Linked DNA regions of Homo sapiens: all the other regions are linked to region 5. The links are contacts of gene promoters, found by promoter capture Hi-C in blood cells and fetal thymus (Javierre and others, 2016). All regions are on one chromosome and are shown on one strand. The core of a region is centred on a gene start or on the middle of the fragment in contact, and the rest is flanking DNA. Distances in the headings are between cores, read along the strand shown. Region 1 overlaps HSPA4 (heat shock protein family A (Hsp70) member 4). Region 2 overlaps LOC105379182 (a long non-coding RNA gene). Region 3 holds the start of WSPAR (Wnt signaling pathway activating non-coding RNA). Region 4 has its middle 30 kb from the start of WSPAR. Region 5 holds the start of FSTL4 (follistatin like 4).

The links. Contacts are between HindIII fragments. The CHiCAGO score rates a contact against its expected background, and 5 or more counts as called.
Region 1: a fragment that was not itself captured here is called in contact with the fragment with the promoter of FSTL4 in region 5 in 2 of 17 cell types (total CD4 T cells and M0 macrophages); the score reaches 6.7 in total CD4 T cells.
Region 2: a contact is called between a fragment that was not itself captured here and the fragment with the promoter of FSTL4 in region 5, in 3 of 17 cell types (endothelial precursors, M1 macrophages and M0 macrophages). The highest score is 9.5, in endothelial precursors.
Region 3: a contact is called between a fragment that was not itself captured here and the fragment with the promoter of FSTL4 in region 5, in 2 of 17 cell types (endothelial precursors and M1 macrophages). The highest score is 5.4, in endothelial precursors.
Region 4: a contact is called between a fragment that was not itself captured here and the fragment with the promoter of FSTL4 in region 5, in 1 of 17 cell types (M1 macrophages). The highest score is 6.1, in M1 macrophages.

What each region holds. Positions count from the first base shown.
Region 1 is chr5:133,106,272-133,111,063 of GRCh38, forward strand. HSPA4 (heat shock protein family A (Hsp70) member 4) reads left to right here. Exons shown (of 19, transcript NM_002154.4): 19 at 1-178. Among named protein-coding and RNA genes, the nearest start is that of HSPA4, 57 kb to the left of the region's middle. RefSeq lists an enhancer at 2,246-2,295. The HindIII fragment of the contact is 180 bases long and covers 2,358-2,537 here.
Region 2 is chr5:133,941,125-133,945,984 of GRCh38, forward strand. The region is part of intron 3 of LOC105379182 (a long non-coding RNA gene); the gene reads right to left. Among named protein-coding and RNA genes, the nearest start is that of C5orf15, 25 kb to the right of the region's middle. The HindIII fragment of the contact is 4,627 bases long and covers 1-4,100 here.
Region 3 is chr5:133,911,435-133,915,608 of GRCh38, forward strand. WSPAR (Wnt signaling pathway activating non-coding RNA) reads left to right here and starts at 2,243. Exons shown (of 3, transcript NR_131252.1): 1 at 2,243-2,562; 2 at 3,341-3,488. The HindIII fragment of the contact is 2,244 bases long and covers 138-2,381 here.
Region 4 is chr5:133,881,362-133,885,894 of GRCh38, forward strand. No RefSeq gene overlaps it. Among named protein-coding and RNA genes, the nearest start is that of WSPAR, 30 kb to the right of the region's middle. RefSeq lists enhancers at 2,257-2,758, 2,759-3,258 and a silencer at 3,603-3,803. The HindIII fragment of the contact is 248 bases long and covers 1,407-1,654 here.
Region 5 is chr5:133,610,029-133,614,836 of GRCh38, forward strand. It overlaps FSTL4 (follistatin like 4), which reads right to left and starts at 2,513. Exons shown (of 16, transcript NM_015082.2): 1 at 2,297-2,513. RefSeq lists a silencer at 1,195-1,244. The HindIII fragment of the contact is 11,171 bases long and covers 1-4,756 here.

The DNA of each region.
Region 1 (4,792 bases), core at 1,198-3,697, 500 kb before region 5:
AGGCCAGGACAGAGAGTGGTAATTGATGGCTTGTGTACAGACAAGCATTTATCCAGGTTGCGTTATCCAAACTGATTTGTTAAAGCTCCAGGTCACGTTCTTACACTAAGAAAATCATTCAGTAAACATGAGACAAGTTTAGGAAAAACTAATAAAATAAACCTGTCTTAAACTTGAATGGTTTCCTTAATTCCATAATGAAGGCTGCTGGGTGTGTGTGTGGGGGTGTGTGTGTATGTGTGTGTGTCTGTGTGTATGTGTGTGTGGGGTGGGGGCGGGGGGTGTGTTTTCAATAAAAATGTTCTCTAGGAGTAGGAACCCTCTGAGCTAAATTTCACTTAACATCCGTTGAAGACTTCCAGTCTGAAGAGTGACAGCTGAAGCACACTGCCTACTTTGTGAGAAAATGTTGCCTAATTTTTCTGTACTCAAACTCTCCAGTTGAGTCTTGGCCCAGTTCCTTTGGTGTTAGGAATCCTTGTCTTGCTCCTGTGACTGGGCCTTACTTTGAGGGTTTTGTTAGCAGAAGGCGGGGGTTATGGCATAAAGGTAAGTGCTAGGACTTACACCTGGCCAAAGAACAGCGCGGTCCAGAGTGTGCTAGAATAGTTGGCGCCACTGGATGTGTGGTGTGGCTGCGTGGAATGTGTGTTGGTGTATGTATGTGGTGGTGATGGGTGTTTAAAGGGCACTAAGCCAGTGAAAAAGACCTTAACTGGATAAGGCATGGGTCTAGACGAGGAGGGGTCAGGGGTCTTGTTCCCTGGGTCATGCCCCTTGCACAGTCCTAGTCCTCTGGCTGTAGGAGCAGCTTACCTGCCAGGGCCTACCCAGGGCCTATTGTAGCCACGTGTCTGAGAAACGTGTGTCTAGTAGGTTTGGTTTCCTCCTGAGCATGTAAGTGGTTTCTGTAGGGGAATTGTTAGATGTGGTAGAAAGAGCTGAGATAGCTGGGTGTGGTGGTGTGCACCTGTGATTCCAGATACTTGGGGGGCTGAGGCAGGAGGATCACTTGAGCCCAGGTGGTCAAAGCTGCAGTGAACTGAGATTGTGCTATTGCAACTCCAGCCTGGGTGATAAAGTGATACCCTGTCTCCTTAAAAGGTGGGGGCCTGAGAGATCAGGGTTCTGTTGTGGGGCAGTGGGAGCTGCTTTGCAGGGGCACAGGGGGCCTGGGGGTTGTTGGAGGTAGTGGGACTTAGTCCACCTTTGAGGGGACAGCCAAATGAAGGGGAAAATTGCTGGTTTTGGTACCTGCAGGAAGAGGGAAGATGTAAGCATGGTTCCAGCTGAAAACCATGCTTTAGAAGTTGGGATAGTAGTTACTCTTTGTGGAGTAGTGACAACATGATGTGAGGCTTGGTGATGCTTGTTTTTTGATCTGACTTGATAGTGTACTCATGTACACTTGATCTATTTCAATAATTTTAAGTGGCTTTAACAGAAAGGTGTGTATTTTTTTTTTTTTTTTTTGAGATGGAGTCTCGCTTTGTCACCCAGGCTGCAGTGCAGTGGCGGGATCTTGGTTTACTGCAACCTCTGCCTCCCGGGTTCAAGTGATTCTTCTGCCTCAGCCTCCCGAGTAACGGACTGGAGGCGTGCGCCACCACGCACTGCTAATTTTTGTATTTTTAGTAGAGACAGGGTTTCACTGTATTGGCCAGGCTGGTCTCGAACTCCTGACCTTGTGATCTGCCCACCTTGGCCTCCCAAAGTGCCAGGATTACAGGTGTGAGCCACCATGCCTGGCCTACATTTTTACACACACAATGTAGGTTATAAAACTACATAGCCTCTCATGTTTTGAAAGAACATTAAATGGGTTTGCAATAAAAAAGCCAGAAGGATTTTCCCAGATGAAGTGGTTTTTAGGGTGGGATTGTGGGTGATTGTTTATTTTTGCTTGTTTCTGTTTTCAGAGTTTGCTACAATAAGCATTTAGGGCCAGGCATGGTGGCTCATGCCTGTAATCCCAGCCAAAGTGGGAGGATCTCTTGGGTCCAGGAGTTCAAGACCAGCCTGGGCAACATGGGGAGACAAGCCCCTACCCCCCACCGCCTCCTGTCACTAATAAAAGCATTTAGGAATTTTATAATGTTAAGAAAACTAGAAGTGTGTTTTAAGAAGAATGGCTCCAAGGTTTCAAACCTAGAATACGGGATATGATTGTACATGTGGAGCTTCTAGTCTTGAGTCATTGGAGATGTGGTGGGAGTTTAGATTGAGAAGTTTTCCTGGGTGGGGTTGAGACATCGAAGCTCCAGGTGGGTGTGGATGGAAGCTTTTGGGGCTGGAGTCGTGTTCCTCATTGACGGGATGAAGGCTTGTGTTGAGATGTGTTAGGAAGAGGAAGTAAAAGCTTTGAAAGAAGGAACTGCCAGAGAGGAGTTATGATGCATAAAGCATGTTGGGAGGAAGGGAGCTAGAGATGTGAGATGTGGCAGTGGCCAGCAGGGTTAGATGCTTCAGTAGGGTGGGAGCTGGGTGGGGTGAAGGGGCTTGAGGTGAGGCTGCAGGTGCTGAGTACTTGGTCAAGAAGCTTGGCCTCAGCCGCCCCGTCCGGGAGGGAGGTGGGGGGGTCGGCCCCCCGCCCGGCCAGCCGCCCCGTCCGGGAGGGAGGTGGGGGGGGTCAGCCCCCCCGCCCAGCCAGCTGCCCTGTCCGGGAGGTGAGGGGCGCCTCTGCCCGGCCGCCCCTACTGGGAAGTGAGGAGCCCCTCTGCCCGGCCAGCCGCCCCGTCCGGGAGGGAGGTGGGGGGGTCAGCCCCCCCGCCCAGCCAGCCGCCCTGTCCGGGAGGTGAGGGGCGCCTCTGCCCGGCCGCCCCTACTGGGAAGTGAGGAGCCCCTCTGCCCGGCCAGCCGCCCCGTCCGGGAGGGAGGTGGGGGGGTCAGCCCCCCCGCCCAGCCAGCCGCCCTGTCCGGGAGGTGAGGGGCGCCTCTGCCCGGCCGCCCCTACTGGGAAGTGAGGAGCCCCTCTGCCCGGCCACCACCCCGTCTGGGAGGTGTGCCCAACAGCTCATTGAGAACGGGCCAGGATGACAATGGCGGCTTTGTGGAATAGAAAGGCGGGAAAGGTGGGGAAAAGATTGAGAAATCGGATGGTTGCCGTGTCTGTGTAGAAAGAAGCAGACATGGGAGACTTTTCATTTTGTTCTGCACTAAGAAAAATTCCTCTGCCTTGGGATCCTGTTGATCTGTGACCTTACCCCCAACCCTGTGCTCTCTGAAACATGTGCTGTGTCCACTCAGGGTTAAATGGATTAAGGGCGGTGCAAGATGTGCTTTGTTAAACAGATGCTTGAAGGCAGCATGCTCGTTAAGAGTCATCACCAATCCCTAATCTCAAGTAATCAGGGACACAAACACTGCGGAAGGCCGCAGGGTCCTCTGCCTAGGAAAACCAGAGACCTTTGTTCACTTGTTTATCTGCTGACCTTCCCTCCACTATTGTCCCATGACCCTGCCAAATCCCCCTCTGTGAGAAACACCCAAGAATTATCAATAAAAAAATAAATTAAAAAAAAAAAAATAAAAAAAAAAAATAAAAAAAAAAAAGCAAAAAAAAAAAAAAAAAAAGAAGCTTGGCCTCTGAAATGAGGCATCAGTCTGCGAGAAAGGAGGTTGGGCAGTGTCCTGTGTGTAAATGGGGATGGTTCCCACCACTTACTTGAGACCATTGGGAATCTTGGAGTTGCCAGTACATTCCTTGGATGTACTTGGCTTTGGCTGGGGCAGCCCTGGGCCATGACCCTCTAACCTGGAATGCCACTGTTTTTGTGAACTGCTATTTTGAGCAGATATTGCAAGAAGTGTAGAAACTAAAGAGGTGACTTCTTAAGCATCAGTCTAGGAGGCAAATAGGGAAAATGGCCAAGTTGAGGTACAAGCAACACATCTGGAAAGATAAAGGAGGGTGTAAATTTCTGGAGGATCAGGGAAGGAAAGACCTCAGAGTATTTAAAAAAATACAGAATGCTTTCCAGATTTGCTCAATATCCATGGGCAAGTGCCAGGCTAATCCTGACCTTATTCCTCCAGTTTCAGCACACGTCATTAGGACAGGGTGAGTAGAGACTCTTTACTCTCCCTTCGTAAGTGGCATTCGCCAGCTTCAAACACAACACAGAAAAGACTACAGAAAGCTGTGTTTTTATCGGGCCTGTTCACTAGTGTGTCTGGGTTTACATCCTTCAAGGGCGAGATGGACTATTAGATTTGGAGTCCTGGATCAGTTGAGGGAGAGAAAGCACTGCAAGTACTTTATCACAAGTAAGCAGACCTTTACTCACCACATACTGGAGGTCTCCCATTTTTTTTTCTACATGAACTTTAAAATGTATTTTAAAATATCTATTATTTAAATTAGACTCAGCTAATGCTTGCAGAAGAGAAAGCTGGAAACAGATGGTCTTGGAAGACCAGTCAGTGGCCCAGCTTCCAGGATGTAAATCCCAGCAAAGGATTTCTAAGGATGAGCTGGGTCAGTATATATTCCACAAAAGGATGGTTCCAGTTATAGGGTACCTTTCAGGAGTGCCAGTGGGGAGCTTTGTAGGACCCGTGTAAGGCTGCCATGAGGAGCCGGTGAGCTGTCTGGGTTAGGAAAGTTGAAAGGGCCCATGCAGTGGTAAAGGAGGCCGCAGCATGAGTGAAGGTCTTTCCTCTGTGACTGGTCCTGTCCTTGTCTTCTACATCCCACAACTGAAGGAGGGACTCTGCCTGGGTTACAGCTGCCTCCGTGCAGCCCGGCAAGAAGCAGGGAATGGAGAAGGCGCTCAGTGAATACTTGAAGGCA
Region 2 (4,860 bases), core at 537-3,036, 330 kb after region 5:
AAGAACCGTGTTGATCACGTGGTTCCAGGACGTGAACCGGCTTAGGTCTGGGAAAGTGAAGGGGGGACCATGACTGCATTGTGGGGGCCGAAGTTGGCTTCTGGCCACAGATCGTGCTTGTCAGGATGGTTCAGTGTGCTGTCCACCCACTTCAATCCTAGAGGCTCCAGATAAAGCAGCTACCACCAAAGTGCCCCTCCATCAAGACATTCTGATTCCCACACTGGGTATGTGTGCAGTGGGAAAAGGAGGAGGGCAGGAACGGTATTATTTGACTGTTACCGGTGTCACCCAGCATTGCCTTTTTTTGCTCACAACTAACATTTAAGGCGGGTTTTCTCTGGCCTGAACTCTCCCCTCATGGGTGCTTTGTGGATTCTTTGGGAACCCCAAATGGAACACTTGGCTGCAGGTTCCTCTGTGTGGCTGCTGCTTTCCTCCCTCAATCTCCAGGAATTTGGGGGTCCATCTGTCTTCAGGGTCACCTTTCCCTTCTGGGCAGGTTTATGAGGCCAGCCCTTTGCCCCACGTGGCCCATATCTGTAAGAAACACTTACTTATGCATCAGTGGTCTTACTACTGGTAGAAGCACAGTTGGCTCCAAATGTGCCTCACACCTCTCTCTCTCTCGCTCTGTGTGTGTGTGTGTGTGTGTGTGTGTGTGTGTCTCTGTACCCCCTACCCTGTCTCTTCCCTTCCTCTCCTCCCCTTTCTTCTCTTCCCATCTACCCCCTCTGTCTCATGTTTAGAGTCTTCAGGTGAATCTCGGAAAACACGGCCTGTAACCCTGACACTTTGGGAGGCTGAGGCGGGCAGATCGCTTGAGCTCAGGAGTTCAAGCCTAGCCTGGGCAACATAGCGAAACCTTATCTCTACTAAAGGGGGCTGAGGCAGGAGGATCACTTGAGCCCAGGAGGTCAAGGCTACAGTGAGCAGTTATCACACCACTACACTCCAGCCTGGGTGATAGAATGAGACAGTATCTCAAAAAAAAAAAAAAAAAAAGAAAGAAAGAAAGAAAAAGAAAAAAGAAAAGTGGCCAGGCGCAGTGGCTCACACCTGTAATCCCAGCACTTTGGGAGACCAAGGCAGGTGGATCACCTGAGGTCAGGAGTTTGAGACCAGCCTGACCAACATGGTGAAACCCCGTCTCTACAAAAAATACAAAATTAGCCAGTTATGCTGGTAATCCCAGCAACCTGGGAGGCTGAGGCAGGAGAACTGCTTGAACCCAGGAGGTGGAGGTTGCAGTGAGCCGAGATCATACCATTGCACTCCAACCTGAGCAACAAGAGCAAAACTCCATCTCAAAAAAAAAGTTATATTATTTTATATATACTATATTCTATATAGCATCTACCTCATAGGGCTCTTGTGATAATTAAATTGAACAACCCTGGTGAAGAACCTAGTTAAAGTGCTCAAGAAATGGCAGGTATTATTAGTATTCCTATTAATATTATAAACCAGAGCACACAATGGCCCCAGCTGATCTACCAGGTCAGGAATCAGGGAACATTTCCTCCTCAGCTGCATCTCAGGCAGTGAAAGGCAAATCTCTCCAGAGGAGAGGCCCACAGATGCATCTGTGCTTTCCCACCACCATCGCGTGCCCGCCTGCACACAGGCAAGCAGCTTTTTGAGCTTTGGAACTTTACAGGGAGGACTGGATTTGGGATGAGGCCTGGGGTCGGGGAGCAAGAGGCCTGGAGCAGGGGCATTGGCCTCCAGCACACAGACATTTTCCAGTTTGCAAAGTTTCCAGCCTAGCAGAAGGAGGGTGGTTGGGGTTGGGGTTGGGGTTGGGGGAGTTGGCAGTCTGAGATGGATTAACATTTTCCTTCCTCGGGGCCTAGAGTAGTGGAGGAATTTGGAGAAGCCGCGAAGATAACTCAGGGCTGCTTTGAACATTTGAACCAAGGGCACTTCTGAAGCCAAGGGGTTGGGCGGCAGCATTGATTTTTAAGTTCATCACAGCTACAGCCTCAGATGTGGACTGTGCTGAGGGACCCAGGATCTGAACTCCTCACGGAGGCTGGTAGAAGAAATCTCCCAGGCTGTCTTTGCTGGGGACCATAACCAAAACTCTCTCCCCAAGATTTAAAAAAAAAAAATTCAGCCCTCAGAGTCCCAAGCAGGCCCTGGGGCTGTCACGAATTTCTGTGTAGTCCTTTCTGTGAAGTTCTTGGCTCTTCCCCAAGCCATGAAACCACTCCCAGAACTGGGTCAACAGAAATCATCCAGAGCAGAGAGCCAGCCACTACCTTACCTACTCAGGAGGCTCTGCAGAGGGCCAGGGCAGTCGGAGCCCTGTCCCACCAACAGTCTTGCTGTGGGACAACCATGTCCCACCAGCAGTCTTGCTCCCTTCTCCTTCGGCATTATACCCAGGGTGTGACTGGCTCCCAGCCTATGGGAAAGATGGAACTTTTTCACGGGTTTCTGGCTGAGAAGCTGCAGACATCCGAGGGACGTGCCTTCTGAGCCAGCTGCCCCAAATGGCCAAGCAGTCTCTCAACAGCAGTGCCCATTAGCTAATGCATATAACACATCTGGGGATGGGTGCACCCCATCTGTACTTCCCACCAAATGGCTCTCAGGTTGAGGAACCGTCTGTGTATCTCTAAGGAGGCATGTTGCCAAGGACCCTACCGTGGTACCAGCATTGTCCACTGAGGCCGAAGCCATTTCTCCAAGTTCATGCCTGCCCTTTGCCCTTGGAGGAGTCAGTGGAGCTGGGGACTGAACAACAAAGGACTTCAGGTTGGGACTAATGGACCTGCAGGTGCCCTGAGATTGGGGGAGTTATGACAATCGTACTTTCTTTTCTTCTTAATTTATTTTTATTTTATTTATTTTTATTTATTTATTTATTTATTTATTTTTTGAGACGGAGTCTTGCACTGTCGCCCAGGCTAGAGTGCAGTGGTATGATCTCAGCTCACTGCAACCTCTGCCTCCCAGGTTCAACCAATTCTCCTGCCTTAGCCTCCCAAGTAGCTGGGATTACAGGCATGCTCCACCACACCTGGCTAATTTTTGTATTTTTAGTAGAGACAGGATTTCACCATGTTGGTCAGGCTGGTCTCGAACTCCTGACCTCAGGTGATCCACCCACCTCAGCCTCCCAAAGTGCTGAGATTACAGGCGTGAGCCACCGCGCCTGGCCGATAATCATGCTTTCTTTTGCCCTCACTGTCGGAGATTTGGACTTACTGCCAGAAGCATCCTTCCAGCATCCAGCAGAAACTCGAAGATGCTTTTTCCTGAGAACCCAGGTAAAGAAGGAGGTCCCCTTTATGGTGTAGTCACACTACCCCCTGCTGGACAGAAGGCAGCATGGCGATGAGGGCCTGCAGTGCCCAGCATCCATGGATATTTGCCAAGTGTCGTGGGCAAGGTATTAGACACACAGTAAGCACTCAGTAACAGTCACTTATTGTTATCGTTTAGTTGCTGTTGTTGTCATAGAGTGAGGACCACCACAGAAGATCAGAGAAAGAAGTTACTGTGAGGCAGAGGGTCGCTATCGCCTTCTGGGCTCTGCCTCTGGCTGTCTATCCCAGGGGAGATGTACGCAGAGCTCTTGAGGGGAAGAAGCTGCTTATGGGCCATCATCACCTACAAGGGCACCTCCCACTTCCACAGACGGGCTCCGATCACCTGGGCCCCAAACGCCCTTGAACTAGCCTCTGTGTTGCCAAGTTCTTTCTGCCCGTGTTCCCTGAGCAGACCCTCTGCAACCTCAGCTGGTCCCCGCACTGCAAACATTTGCTGATCTATTCAGCTCAATTTAAGCTGCAGCAGACCGAAACCTCAAGTGAGCTAACATGACCTTGCTGTTTTCATTTTCATCGAGATAAGAAAATGCCAAGATAAGTAATTGTCAGAGTTAATAATTTAAAAATGCAATAGACCTTGTAATTAAAAATAAGCTGAAGGAGGCCACAAAGTGATTGTAATAATGTTTCAAGGGCCAATCACACAAAACCCTCCTCTGGCTGTGCCAGGAGAGCTGGAAGGAAAGAATCAAACTCTTGGAGGCTCTGAGCAGTTTATGTACCAGGAAAATCCTTTTCTTAAAATCTGGTCCATCAGAAAGCTTTGGATACATTTATCCAATACTGGCCACACCTTCATGAATTTTCCCTACTTATTCATGTATCTTTTCGTTTGTTTGTTTGTTTGAGACAGAGTCACACTCCGTCACCCAGGCTGGAGTGCAGTGGCCCGATCTCTGCTCACTGCAACCTCCGCCTCCCGGGTTAAAGCGATTCTCCAGCCTCAGCTTCCCAAGTAGCTGGGATTATAGGCACCCACCACCGCACCTGACTAATTTTTTGTATTTTTAGTAGAGATGGGGTTTCACCATGTTGGCCAGGCTGGTCTTGAACTCCTGACCTCAGGCGATCCACCCGCCTCAGCTTCTCAAAGTGCTGGGGTAACAGGCGTGAGCCACAGTGCCCGGCTATTCATGTATCTTTTATCAGAAGTAATTATGGACTCCCTTTCTCCCTGGCCTAACTGGAATCTGTGGACTCTGTGGCATGCTATGTTTTCTGGTTGGAATGGGATTACTGAGTCAGGAAGCTATACCCTTCTGGTACATTCCCAAAGAATCTAACACATCACTTTGAAGCCTCAGTCCCCTCCCTCTCTGGTGAGCCTTGGCGTGTTATCAAATGGTTTCCTTGTTTCATGCAGAAGGGCTGATGAGGAAAACACTGTGCCCTTCATTGATTGGCATTCATACTTGCTCTACTGAGAGAGCAAAGAGGCCTTATACCATCACCCAGGAAGGTTGCAGCTCCCATTTCTGATGGCCACTCAGTTGGTAGCAGATCAGGCTTCCCTCTGCCT
Region 3 (4,174 bases), core at 10-2,509, 300 kb after region 5:
AACACTGGGGAACTAGAACTCACTGAGCAGCCAGACAGAAGAGTGGACCAGGCATAGTCGTCCCAGTGGTTTTAACCAGAAAAGGCTTCCAGGGGAGGTAGGGGTCAAGGAGGGCCGGTTAGAGCCCAAGCCAGCTAAGCTTCTTGGAGGGACACTTCTAGGGGATGAAGGAGTGAGAGTGGAAGGTTTCATAGAGAGGGTCAAGCATCGCCCTGCCCACACTGCTTGTTTCAAAGTGCAAAGATCCCATGGCTGGAGTTAAATGCTCCCCATGGTTGGGATGCTGCCTGTCCCTGTTCTTCACAGTTCCAGGCTGGGGATCCACCTCTGCCATGTAAGATGGAATGTGGATCCGCATGGCCAGGTCTGTACACCATCAATCAGATATGAAGCAACTCTGGGGGCTACCCCATCTTACTTCCTTCCACTCTGGAATTATTTGTGCTAGAGGGTACCTTGGAGCAGTAATTTCATATACCAACAATGTCCAATCAAGCACTGTAGAACTGCTGTTCCACAATTAAACTCTGTAGCCATAATTTGTTTATCAATAAAATGTAGGCCAGGTGCGGTGGCTCATGTCTGTAACCCCAGCACTTTGGGAGGCCAAGGCAGACAGGTCACCTGAGGTCAGGAGTTCGAGACCAGCCTGGCTAACATGGTAAAATGCTGTTCCTACTAAAAATACAAAAAATTAGCCAGGCATGGTGGTGCACGCCTGTAATCCCAGCTACTCAGGAGGCTGAGGCAGGAGAATCGCTTGAACCCGGGAGGCGGAGGTTGCAGTGAGCTGAGATTGCGCCACTGCACTCCAGCTTGGGCAACAAGAGTGAAACTCCGTCTCAAAAAAAATGTAAGGCCAGGCATGGTGGCTCATGTCTGTAACCCTAGAACTTTGGGAGGTCCAGGTGGGAGAATCTCTTGAGCCGAGGAGTTCGAAACCAGCCTGGGCAACATAGTGAAACCTTGTCTCCACAAAAAGTTTTTAAAAATTAAGCGAGTATGGTGGCATGTGCCTGTCATCCCAGCTACTCAGGTGGCTGACGTGGGAGGGTCGCTTAAGCCCAGGAGGTCGAGGGTGCAGTAAGCCATGGTGGTGCCACTGTACTCCAGCCTGGGCAACATAGAAAAACCTTGTCTCAAAAAATGAAAAATGAAAAATTTTTTTTTGAGAAGGAGTCCTGCTCTGTTGCCCAGGCTGGAATGCAGTGGCGCAAACTTGGCTCACTGTAAGCTCTGCCTCCCAGGTTCACACCATTCTCCTGCCTCAGCCTCCCGAGTAGCTGGGACTACAGGTGCCCACCACCATGCCCGGCTAATTTTTTGTATTTTTAGTAGAGACGGGGTTTCACCATGTTAGCCAGGATGGTCTCGATCTCCTGACCTTGTGATCTGCCTGCCTCGGCCTCCCAAAGTGCTGGGATTACAGGCGTGAGCCACCAGGCCCAGCCAAAACGTAATTGTAATTAAGTTTACTTTCCAAAGAAGAAAAAACACTCAGAATCCAAACAGGACAGGTGGAATCAAAGGCTTCTTCACAAAGATGCGTGGGGTAATGCGGAACCCCTTTTCTTAAGAAAAGTTTCTGCTCAGAGGGGATCCTGGCCTTGCTGTTGCAGCTGTTATAAATCGTCCATGGGCATGAAAATGGAGATGGTCTTTGGAGGCCCGGGGAGAGATAAGGAGAGTAACAGACGCCACAGAGGCCATGCTTGGCTGTGGGTTGCAGAGATCTCCATCCCGATTGGAATAGTAATTGCTTCATTGGATCATTGCTTCGAAAAATAATGCGGTGGGGGAGCAGAGGCAGCCCGCTGTGAATTCCAAGCAGGAACATACTGAACTGCTCCAGAGAGAGGGAACTCTGCAGCAGGGAGCGCCTGGAGCCAGGAGTCCACTCACCCCAGCAGGAGGACTCTCCAACAAGAATTCGCCACTCCTGACCTGGAATGTGGAGATGGGAATGGCCAGACGGGCCCTGGACCTGGTGAAGGATGTCAGGACACTACAGCGTCACTGCTCCTGGTGGCAGCCACCATCTCTTAACCCCTCAGGGAGAGTTAAGATTCAGGTCAGCACCTAGAGCAGCTACCTCAGAGTACTTAATGCCAATCCCTGGGCAAAGAACTTCTACACTAAATTCCATTCTGTCGTCACCACGCTGGGAGGTGGACATTACTATCCTCATCTGACAGACAAGGAAACTAACACTACAAGGAGATTAAATAGCATGACAAAGTCTCCATCCTGGCTGAACTTTGGATAAGATCTACGTTTGGGATTCTTCTTGGTGATGGATGATGCCTAGACCAGCCCCAGACACCCTCCCAAGCCTAAGCTCCCCTCTCCTGTTCTGACATCCCCATCCCACCAGGAACCCAAGCTTGTGGCCATCGTGCCAGGAGGACTTCTTCCAGGTTTTAGTATAGCCTGAGTGACCTCTAGGAGTCCTTGGACCTGAGCTAACTCCTGTACAATTTTGGCCGGTTGTCTGGTTAATAAATTAACAATTGGTAATGATAACAGCTAGCCAACATTGTTGGTTATATGCCAGCCACTAAGGTAAGCATTATCTTATATGGCCCTCATAATCTCTCTATAAGGTAGAGTTATATAATCCCCATTTTATAGAGGGGGAAACTGAGGATTAAGCACGTGAGTCACCTGTGGGAAGGCAGAGTCTGGAATCCAGGGGGTTCGATTCCAAGGTCCATGCTTTTAACTCCTGTGTTTTTTTGCTCAGTTTCAGAAAACCCAGTTCACAGAAATCTGATACTTTAGAGATAAATTATTCACATAACAAAAGGATCTTTTACCTTGGGGAAGGATTCAGCTGGACTTTGAGCATAACTTCCTTCGTGCATTTAAAATGTGACCTGACTTAGGATTTTTGGTGTCCTGCCCATGACCTGATGAGAAACTATATTTGTCCCCAGGCTTCTTCAGCTGATATCCTTCTTCCCCTACAGGGAAGGAGGTCAAATCTAATCCTAGGCCTGGAAATGCTTGGCCAGGGCCTGGTGGTGCCCAAGCCCCTCTCAGGCTGGGCTTTGGCTTCTTGGGGCCAGGCCTTGGGTATAGAGGCCACTGCCCACACTCAGGCCCAGACAAGCTTGGTGACCTTGCATGGGCCACTCCGTGTCTCTTGCTCTGCCGCATGTAACCCTGGTCATGCTGACTTGCTCTTGCTGGGGCTCCCGGGTGTATCTAATAAATGATGTAAAGCACTTAGAGACATAAGTGCTCAACTACTGGGGCCATAAATTACCAGGGATGGATTCCTGAATGTTATGATTATGTGCTTGTGCTTGTTCTCAGTAATGAATAATTATCCTTTTAGTCCTGCAGCCACATCCAAACATCTTCACCCCACAGGACTAGAGGAGTCACTGACCCTGACTGCTGGGCTCCTCCGATGGTCATGGGCAACAACCAAATGCAAAGCTTGGTCCCTGATGGACACCAGTCTGAAGAACCTTTTCTATAAGGCACGTTTGGGTAAATTTGAACACAGGCAAGGTATTAGATGGTGTCAGGAAACTGTTAACTTTGTTAGGTATAATCATGGCATTATGATTATACAGGAGTTTGGTTTTTTTTTGTTTTTTTTTTTGAGATGGAATCTCACTTTGTTGCCCAGGCCGGAGTGCAGTGGTGCAATCTCAGCTCACTGCAGCCTCCACCTCCTGGGATCAAGCAATTCTCATGCCTCATCCTCCCAAGTAGCTGACATTACAGGCATGCACCACCACACCCAACTAATTTTTGTATATTTAGTAAAGCTGGGGTTTCACCATGTTGGCCAGGCTGGTCTTGAACTCCTGACCTCAAGTAATCCACTCGCCTCGACCTTCCAAAATGCTGGGATTACAGGATACGCCTGGCCAGGAGTATCTTATTTTTTTAGAAGTGCATGTTGAAATAGGGGTAAAATACCTGTCATTTATTTTTAGATACTTTAGGAAAAAAAAGATGAAGCAAATACTGCAAGATATATACATTAGCTTAATCTAGGGATAGGCATATGAGTGCTCACTACATCATTTGCTCTGCTTTTCTATATATGTTTATATGTAATTAAGTTTAAAAACAAAACCAGCAAAGCATGATGATTTCAGAGACGTGCTCTGGCTAAGTTACAATTCCCTCACAAGTAACAGGCAGAGGGAGATGA
Region 4 (4,533 bases), core at 281-2,780, 270 kb after region 5:
CACCACCTCGGAAGGTGATGTGGCCAGGCTCTTCCCTCCCTCTTCAAAGTCTGGAAACGGACTGTGCAAGCCAACAGATGCTTGTGCTGCACCCAGACTGCCCTTGACTTCAATGCCCTCCCCAAATACCAAATGTCAATTTCCCAAGCTGATGGGGGCACAGAAGTGGGGGCAGGGCTCATCCCCTCACTGAGGAATTTCCTCAGAAAGAATGATCACTCTTGCCATTTCCCTGCTCAGAAATCTGGCCCAGCCTCCTGTGGCTTTTAGGATAAGGACTCACAGCTCAACAGCCCCAGGGGCCTCCGTGAAGGTGAGCTGTACCCCACTGGCCTGGCCTCCCAGCCTCAGCCCCAAGGAAGCCGTTAGCTCCCTCAAGGCACCCAGCTCTTCCCTTCTTGTGGTTTCCCCCACTCCCAGCTCCCCTCCTGGAACTCCCCTCTCCCTGCCGCCTGCACATGGCCAACTACTTCCCAGGTCCAGTGTGAGCATGCCCTCCGCTGCCAAGGCTTCCCTGCTTCCTGAGTAATCCTAGTTTACTTTTCTTCTGTAAGAGGCAATAACACACAGTGCTGGACAGCAGGGGATCTGGAGTCAGACTTCCTGGTTCAAATCCCGGTCTGTTGCTCACCTGCTTGTGGACCGTGGATAAGCTGCTTAATCGCTCTCTACCTGTATCCTCGTCTTAAAGCAAAGCTAATCCATAGAGTTGCTATGAAGATAAAAGGACAATGTCGTCCCCTCTAAATGTTTTGAATTGTGTGGGGCACGCAGCGAATAACCAGTGTCAGCTGTTGTTATCATTACCATCACTTCTAATCTCGCATCACTCTCCTTCTTTTGCCTGCCCAGCCCTTCTCGCACGTGGTGGCTGCGCATCTACTTGGTGGTGATTTGTTGACTGCTGGGATGTCAGCTCCAAGATGAACAGAACCTGAAGCCTGGCATGGTGCCTGGCATGCACAGGTGCTCTGTAATTAACACCTGTTGATTAAAAATCATCATCACTGGCTCTTCTGACTTTAAGCGTCACTGTCCTGGTGGAAGAGGGCTGTAGAGGAGAGAAGTGGTCAGGATAGATGCCGAGTGATGCGCTGAAGCCCCCACCGGGGACACAGATGGACAGGGCACCCTGGGAGCCGCTCTGCGGGCAGCTGGTGAAGCCAGTGCCTAATCAGGCTGCCCAGGCCTGTGGCCCAGCTCTGCCTCTCCTTCCTGTGTGGCCCTGGACAGGTTTTCTAAACTTTCTGACCCTCTGTTTCTCCACTCATAAAACTCCAGTGGGAGGCCAAGGCAGGAGGACTGCTTGAGCCCAGGAGTTTAAGGACTGCTTGGGCAACATAACAAGACCCTGTCTCTTAAAAATAAAAATAAAACACACACACACAAACAAACTCCAGCAGAAAAGCTTTGGTATCTAGTTGAGGCAGCATCCTCTACAGGAAGGGCAGAGAAAGGCCGGCCCCTCTTTCTGCCTGCTTCTGGCATGGCTCCTGGCTGTCCCCAGCATCTGCATTGCCATCTGTAGAGTATGTAAATCCATACAATTAATACTCTTCATAATCTTACCGCAACCATTTTTCTTCACGAATGTGTTCAGTTTCAGGAAACGCGGCATGTCCTGGAGGCACATTTACATTTCATTATCTCTAAAAGCTTAACTACCGTGACTAATGCTGGATTAATAAGCAGCCCCTTCGAACGTCGAACTACTTTAAACACCACCACTTACGCAGTCTCACTGGTGGTGGAAGAGGGTGCTTTCAAACAGCCGCTGTGGCTGAGAAGGGGTCAGTCCAGGAAGCTAAGCAGGTCTAATTTCTGGATCTCCCTTGAGAGACTTTATATTATTCTATCCAAGCAATTAAATCTCAGCCAAAGCTATCAATTTCCCGATGAGCCTGGGACTGAAAGAAAGTCCAGGTGGAGTCCATGTGGGTCACCTGGAGTGTTCCCAATCCCCGCACCAAGGGAGAACCCTGACTGGCCTGGACTCCAAGCACAACACCTAGCTATGAGGCTGTGTGTGCTAAGCACCAGGACCAGACAATGCTCATTTGCAGCTGGAAACCTCATGTACAGCCTTTAAAAGAAGAAAACAAGCCACCAAGTTGAGAGACATCAAAGTCAGACTCCGGCTGAAAGCCCTGGGACTGCCTCCCTAAGGGACAGCACACGAACCACCCCACTGAGGCAGCCGCAGGGAGCACACTCCCTCTGGCCCTTTACCAGCAATCCTGGCACCCGGAAGTGCATGCTTTGTAAATTCCAAGCACAACCATTTTGGGCAGATATTCGTTATTATTGTATTTTTGTGACACAAGTGAGTGCCGTGTCACAGTCAACTATCAGTGCAGGTAGACAGTGGTGTCCAGAAATCTCTCCCTCCAGACTTTCATCCCACCTGACACCTCAGACCCCCAGCATTTTAGCTCATGCAACTGATTTGGGTTTGGCTGCTGCAATGTCTCTGGTTTGTTCAAGATGCTTCTCCCACAAGGATGTGTTCTGCTCTGAGAACTTGGTCACAGATGCTGGTTGATGCAGAGGCCTTCATCGAAGGGACTGGGCTGCCCCTGCCCTCCAGCCACCTCTGCCCACTCTATGCATCACTGGCTAGAGACCCCTTGCTCACCTCCCACAAATGCTCTGGGCCTACCCGTGGCCTTCAGCATAGCAGACCCAGCCCAACTTGTAGGGAGTGGGCCCACCCTCAGCTTCAGGACTGGCATCCAGGGAGGAGGCTTGCTCAAGGAAAGCCCATCCTCTGCTCCCTCTGCTCCAGGAGAAGGGGCCGAGGCCCTCAAAGTTCTGGCTCTCTGACTGTCATCCACCTCAAACTGCAAAGAGGCCCAGAAGCTAAGCCATCTACTGTTTACCAACTCTCCTCCCCAGGACCATCCTGGATCTCCCTGGGCTCCGGACAGCAGCGCTAGCACCCATTGTGACACAGGTTACTGCTTGCTCAGTGGTGCCTAGAGTCTGCATGCTCATCTCCCCGGCAAGTAGGGTGAAGCAGGGCAGGCCAGAGCACCTGTGGGATCTTGCCCCAGCTCCATGGGGTGACAACTCCACCTCTGTACCAGGAATTATTCTGATCCCTATTATCCTTCTTCCACGTATCCCACCAAAAACACCCATTTCTCAGGAAGGGCTAAGAGTCCTGGACGACACTTCATGGGGAGTCAGAATTCCCCATCATGCCAGGTGACTGACTAGCAGAACCTGCTGCTGAAGGTCACATGGACAGGGAGGCATGCACAGAACACAGGAGGTCTCATCTCCTCCTCCCCCACACCATGACCCTAGAAAAGCTCACGAGGGCAGGAGCCAGCCCTGCCGGCTAGACTCCCCCTGCAGCTCCTCAGCCAGAAACAGGGAGGTTAATAAAACACAGGACGAGGGTCTCCCGAGGGACAACTCTTGGCTGCCTCTGAAGTTTACAAAAGCAGCGCTTCTGATGCCTCAAAGGCTGCCTGCCACGGCTTCCTGTGAATTATTACACTGCAGGTTTTCAGAACATTCTGACTGCAATGCCTTGGGAATGAGAGTAATTGTATTTTATCTGTTTGCCAAGAGTTTTCAGTAAACTCCTTTAATGTACTGTAAAACTCACAGCCCCAAATAGCAATGTGTGCCTTCTAGCTTATGCACCAGGCACTGAATAAACACAGGGTGATATATGGGGCTGGAGAGGACACTATTCATATATTTACACCCTTTACCAAAACACACATTCATCTTAATGACATTACTTACTACATAGCCCAACAAATGGAGCCCTCTGAAGGTCACAGTCACAGGCGTTCCTCCAAGATGGCCTCCTCAGCTTGCAGAAGACTTGCCCCAAGGCAGTCCTTGTTCCAGGGATTCCCCACCATAGAAAATCAGATGTCCCCCCGCTTCCCTGTGAGTCAGAACCTGGGGCAGGAAAGCCACCCAAGGCCTCTCCTCCTCATCCCCCAACGACAGGGCCCAGACAGCTGGTGGACACCAATTACCACCCCGTACACCCAGACTTCAGCAACAGGCTACCCTCAAATTGGCCTCAACTCCTTCTTCAACCAGGACAAGGGGGAGGAGAAATAGGAGGAGGAAGATGAAGAAGAGGAGGCAGAGAAAGGAGGGAGGGAAAAGCGGGGGGAGCTGACGGGGGAGGAGGGTGCCTCATTGTGAGGAGGAGGAGCTGGGGGGAGGCGAGGGCAACAGAGTGGACTTGGTCTTCGGGCCACACCCCCTATCCTCCAAAGTGAGGGTCCAATCGAGACCAGGTGTGGAAGAAAAGCCACCCAAGGGAAAGGCCTTGGGCAATGGTGTGCGAGGCCAGAGGCCGGATCTGGGGTTCCATCCAGCCACCAGCCCCTAGGGAGAGCTTGACAAGGGTTTCCCCTTATGCCCCCTCAGTCAATTTCCCCATCTAAAACAGAGGAAGTCAGACCCAGTGATCTCTTGAGGCAGACTTCACCCTCACGGCCACCATGGTCGGTCCAAACCACCACTGTCTCTCTCCCTCTGTGTGCCTCTGCCTTCCCA
Region 5 (4,808 bases), core at 1,263-3,762:
TTTTATGAAACAATGACTATTCAATGCTAGTCTCTGAATATAGTGTTAAGTCAAACAAAAGATCATAACGTGAAGGTCACATTTAAAAAGTCCTACGGCCCTTAGTAAAAGGAAAAAAAGTCCTCAGTGACTGACTGGTCATGGTGGAAAAATCCAACCTCCTCTTCCCTCACCCACCTCCAGGGCACAGCCGAAAGGATAAAAGTTCTCCTAATACCCAGAAAAACAAGCTGGCCTTTTCCAGAAGAAAAAGAGCTTTCCTAGAATCAACAAAAATTGAGGATGATCATAAAAGTCTAAGAGAGAAAAAAGCACTAGGACAACTCTAACGAGCAATTTAAATACATTACATCAAAGTGGACTATTTTCTTATGTGAACTTTGGCTCAGTCTGAAGTCTTTGGAGAGGGTGGTGCCTTTTTTTCCTAGGATGGGAGGGAAAAAGCGAACATTTAGCAGAGTATGGCAGAAATGGTCTAGTGATGCTGCAGTGCCTCCTTCTCACAACGCTAAGATGGGAAGCAGACACGTGCCCTGTAGGGCATCTGCTCGTATGTCCGGCTTGAGCTCCTGCCTGAGAGTTGCTGTGGCTCTGGAGTCTCAGAAGCTGCATCACTCACACCTCCGACCATTCCCTTCCCAGGTGGACCCCCCGCCAACCAGACCCAGAGTCTGTCCTGGGGGCCAGAGGGGCAGGCACAGAAACTGGCGCCTGGCTCCCAGGATTAAGAAGACACTATTAAAAAGCATCGCTGGTTTCCCCTAAATTTGGCAGTAGGAAAATAACTTAGGACTTTCAAGAAGAGTCCTAGTCGCTCACTGATCCGTCTTTTCCCCTCACAGATTGTGACACAGGCCCATTCCCGGTGAACATTTTGGCTGGCAGTTACTTCACCACCTATTGAAATTCTGTTTACGTTTGGCCCAGAGAACCTGGACGGATGTTTGTATCTCGGGGGCCCCATCTAGTACAATTCCTGGTGCACAGGCTTGCAACAAATTTACGAAGGTAACAGACCAAGCTGCCGGCGCTGTTTTTCACTGGAGGAAAGCTCGGCGGAAGCGACACCTAGAGGGGAGCGGCGGGCTGTGGCCGCGCCATTCATCAGTGTCGGCGGCCCGCGGCCGCGAGCGAGGGCTGCTGGACAGCGCCCCGGCACCCGCTCTCGAGCCGCGACACCGACCTCGCCGGGCCCGCCCCGCTGACCCGCGCACTCCTAGTGCACTTGCCGCGCCGCGCGGAGGCTCGCCGCGCTCTGGAAAACAAGAAACCCCACTGCCTCGGCGGCTTTCCGCTCCCGCAAGAGTTGCGGGCACAAAGTCCTCAGGTGGCAGGCCTGGGGTTGGCGCCGCTTTGTCGGCTGCAGGGAGCCCCAAAGACTAGCGTCAGCTCGTCCCCAAACTCGAGGCGACAGGCGCCGAAAGCAGAGTGCTGTGCCTGCCTCGTCCAGGTCCCTCCTGAAACTCAGAACTCGTCTTTGTTTTGCGGGCGCAAAGAGGGCGGAGATCATCCACAGTGCAAGCTCTCTTAGGACCAAGCCCCCAGCCCGAACGCTGAACGCCCCCAACACACTGCTCCCTAGACACGTTCAAGCGGGTACCCCGGGCCGCTCACTCTGGACCGCGGCCGGCTACGCACAAGCAGCGCCGCAGGCTGCCTGGAGTCGGGTCGTGCCCTGATTCCTTCCTCCCCAGCCTCACATGCGGCGGACCCCGGGGAAGCCAGGGCCAGGCGAAGCGCAGCGGGCCCTTTGGGCTGCAGCGAGGAGACGCAAGTTTCCCCGCAAAGCCGCGGGGAGGAGGTGCTGAGAATGCCTGCCCGGCGCCCCAACCCGGAGCCAAGGGCACCGGGCCCGGGCCGAGGGGCCGCGCTCGCCTGGCTCCGCCGGGGCCGCTCGGGGTCCTGAACCCAAGAACGGCGCCTGCAGGATTTCGGAGCCGGGCGCGAGCTGCGGGCTCGGCCCGAGCGCTTCTGCGTGGCGCCCCGCGTGCCAACCGGGTCACTCCGGTCCCCACCGTAGACCCCGGCCACGAGCCTCGGCGTCCCAGCCTCTCCTCGAGTCCTGGCCTTGGCCGGGGTAGCCCTGCCGAGCCCTGGCCCAGCGGTCCCTTCCCCGCGGGCAAACTTGGCTTTCCCGGCGCGGGCAGTAAGGACAAGCAAGCGCCCGCGCCGGGCCCTGCAGCAAGATGCGGGGCCGCGGGCGCCAGGACCCCAGTGGGGTGCAGCGGGACCGGCTGGTGGCGGCGCCAGCGACATGGCACCCTCCCCGCGCCCGCTGGGAGCTGCGCCCGCGTACCTGAGACGGCCGGGGCCGAGGGGAAGACCAGGTGGCCGGACTTGGGCGGGAGGGAGGGAGCACCCCGTGGCGGCGGCGGCGACCCCGCCCCGCGTCCTTCGGCTGGTTTCTCGGGCTGTCGGCGGGTCCCGGGCTCGCTGGAGGCTGTTGAGGCTCCAGCTCCCTGAGCCGCCGCTGCCCGCTGCTGTGCCACCGCCGCCGCGGCTGCCCTATTTCTGCCGCCGGGACCGGAGCCCGTGACGTCACCCTCTGGGCCCCGCCTGCCCAATCGCCGCCACCTGTGCGCGCCGCCCGCCCGCCAGCCGGTCAGACCCGCGCGGCGGCCACGGCAGGTGCGCGGAGCAGGCGGGCGCGCACGCGGGGCGCGATGACTCCGGAGCGCTGGGGCCATCTAGGGCCCGGAGGGAGGAGGGCCAGCGTAGCGCTCCTGCCTCTGGCTAGCGTGGAGCTCGGCAAGTGACAGCCCCTCTTCACCTCTGCTCTCCTCCAGGCTCCTTTCCGGGCCAGGTTCCCCAAAGCTGTGCTCTCCAGGCGCACAGGGGGTCTCTGAATCCGCGGCCATTGCTCGTGGAGTCCAGGCGGGCCGGTACACCACAGCAGGAGAGCTGTCCCTGGGGACAAAGTGGGTGAAATCCCCCGCCGTTGAGACCCAACAACCTGGGAAACAGCAAAGGTTTTCTCTTTTCTGAATCTTCCCTCTTCCAACTACAGAATCTTAAGACATTCAGGGCATACAGGGGCAATCCCAAGTGACATTTGCCTACCTGACCTAGCTGGGCCCAGAGGGTCCCTTCTCCCTTAGAACAGGATATTTCCCCATCCTGATCCCATCCCCAAGCCTGGGGCTCCCAAACTTTTCTGAATCCCTCTTTAACATCAGCAGCTTTTGAGATCAGTCTTCCTTCCCGAATGAACTGGAAACACCTTTGTAACAACTAGGGGCCCATAAATGGTCATACGTAGCCTCAGTCTGGCAGGAAACTTAGGAGGGAGCCCCTACCCAGGCCAGGCTGATGGCCAGGAGACTTTCTGAGGGCCTGCCTCCTGCTCTGGCTGCGTGGGCACCAGGGGCCTTCCTGGCTTAGGTGAACAGTGTTCTGTCCATGCCTCTGTAATCTCTCCTGGCCGGGGGGAGGTGACAGAGGGGATTTTTCTGAGGATGAAGTTAGTTAAATATAAGGAAAAGGGGAAGAATAATGGAAGGCTGACCTGAAGAAAGAGATATTACGTTTGTTTTTTCCTTCCACAGATTTTCCTGCCGCTGAACCCCTCCAATGCAGCAGGCACTGTGCTATTAATAGTTGCTAGAGATACAGCAGTGAATGGGCCAGCGCGGTCTTGGCATCACACAGTTTTGGTCTGGGGTCCAGCTCTCCCTCTATCACTGCCAAGCTATGTAATGCAGAGCCAATCGTATCTCTACTGTAGGTATCAGTTTCCCCACTTGTAAAATGAGGGGTTGGACAAAACCTGGTTGACTTCCCATGTGGATACCATGATTTTTACTCAGAAGGATAAAGGCTACTACATCCTCAGTGACCCTGGGCCCTAGCCAGTGTGATCCTCTCTCAGATTTGACTATGAATCTTTGCCAAGGCCACCATGACTGAACTTCTGGGGCTGGCTAGGGGCCAGATTCTCCATGGCAGGACTGGGGAAGGGATGGCACTTTTCATCTTGGGAAACAGAAAAGAGAAAATGAGTATAAAAGGAAGCAGGGAAGTTTGGAAATGTGCTGTGCCTCCCTCTGAAATGTAATTCTAAGTCTGTGGTCAGGAACGTACACCATGGCTTAGAGGCTGGATTCGGCTCTCCTCTAAGACATGAGGTATTTGGAAAAGCAGATTTCTATTCTCAGCTCTGATCACAAAGTCCCTGAGTCAACCTAGTGGCCTTATTACATAATCAAAGCAGGACTTTGTGTATTTTTTGTTTTTTAGTAACTCAAGGTCATATGTAAATCAGGGTCTATAGGTTGACCAAGATCAGAAATAGCTCTGTTTAATGCAGTGAACAGGCACTGAACTTCTACACGCTTCCCAAAGAAGGAGAAGAAGGTAGTTGCTGCAAACCAGATGTATGGAATATTCCTTAGAGAGAATGCTAACATCTGAAGTGAGCTGTTTAACTACTGTGCATAAAATAAGAGTGAAATTAAAAGTCACCTCGGAATGAGAAAGGTGAAGTGTGAATGACAAAATAAAACAAGGCTCCAGGGAAGCAGCATCAGATGCCAGTAACCTTGACACCTCTTTGAATTGCTCTGTGCTTTTACCTCTCAGTGTAATTTTTTGTTTAATAGTACACCCCAAATTGGAAAATAGGCTAGATTTCACACTGAGAATTTCAAAATTTGCCTGAAACCCTGTTTCAGAACTTGCAAGCATACTGATTCTCAATAGCCAACTAGGATTCTTAGGGGAAATAATGGTTAAGTTTTGAACTTCATGTAATTCAATAAGCTTGGAATAGGGGAGCTAAAAGGAAACATAAATTCCAGTTACTGCCCCCC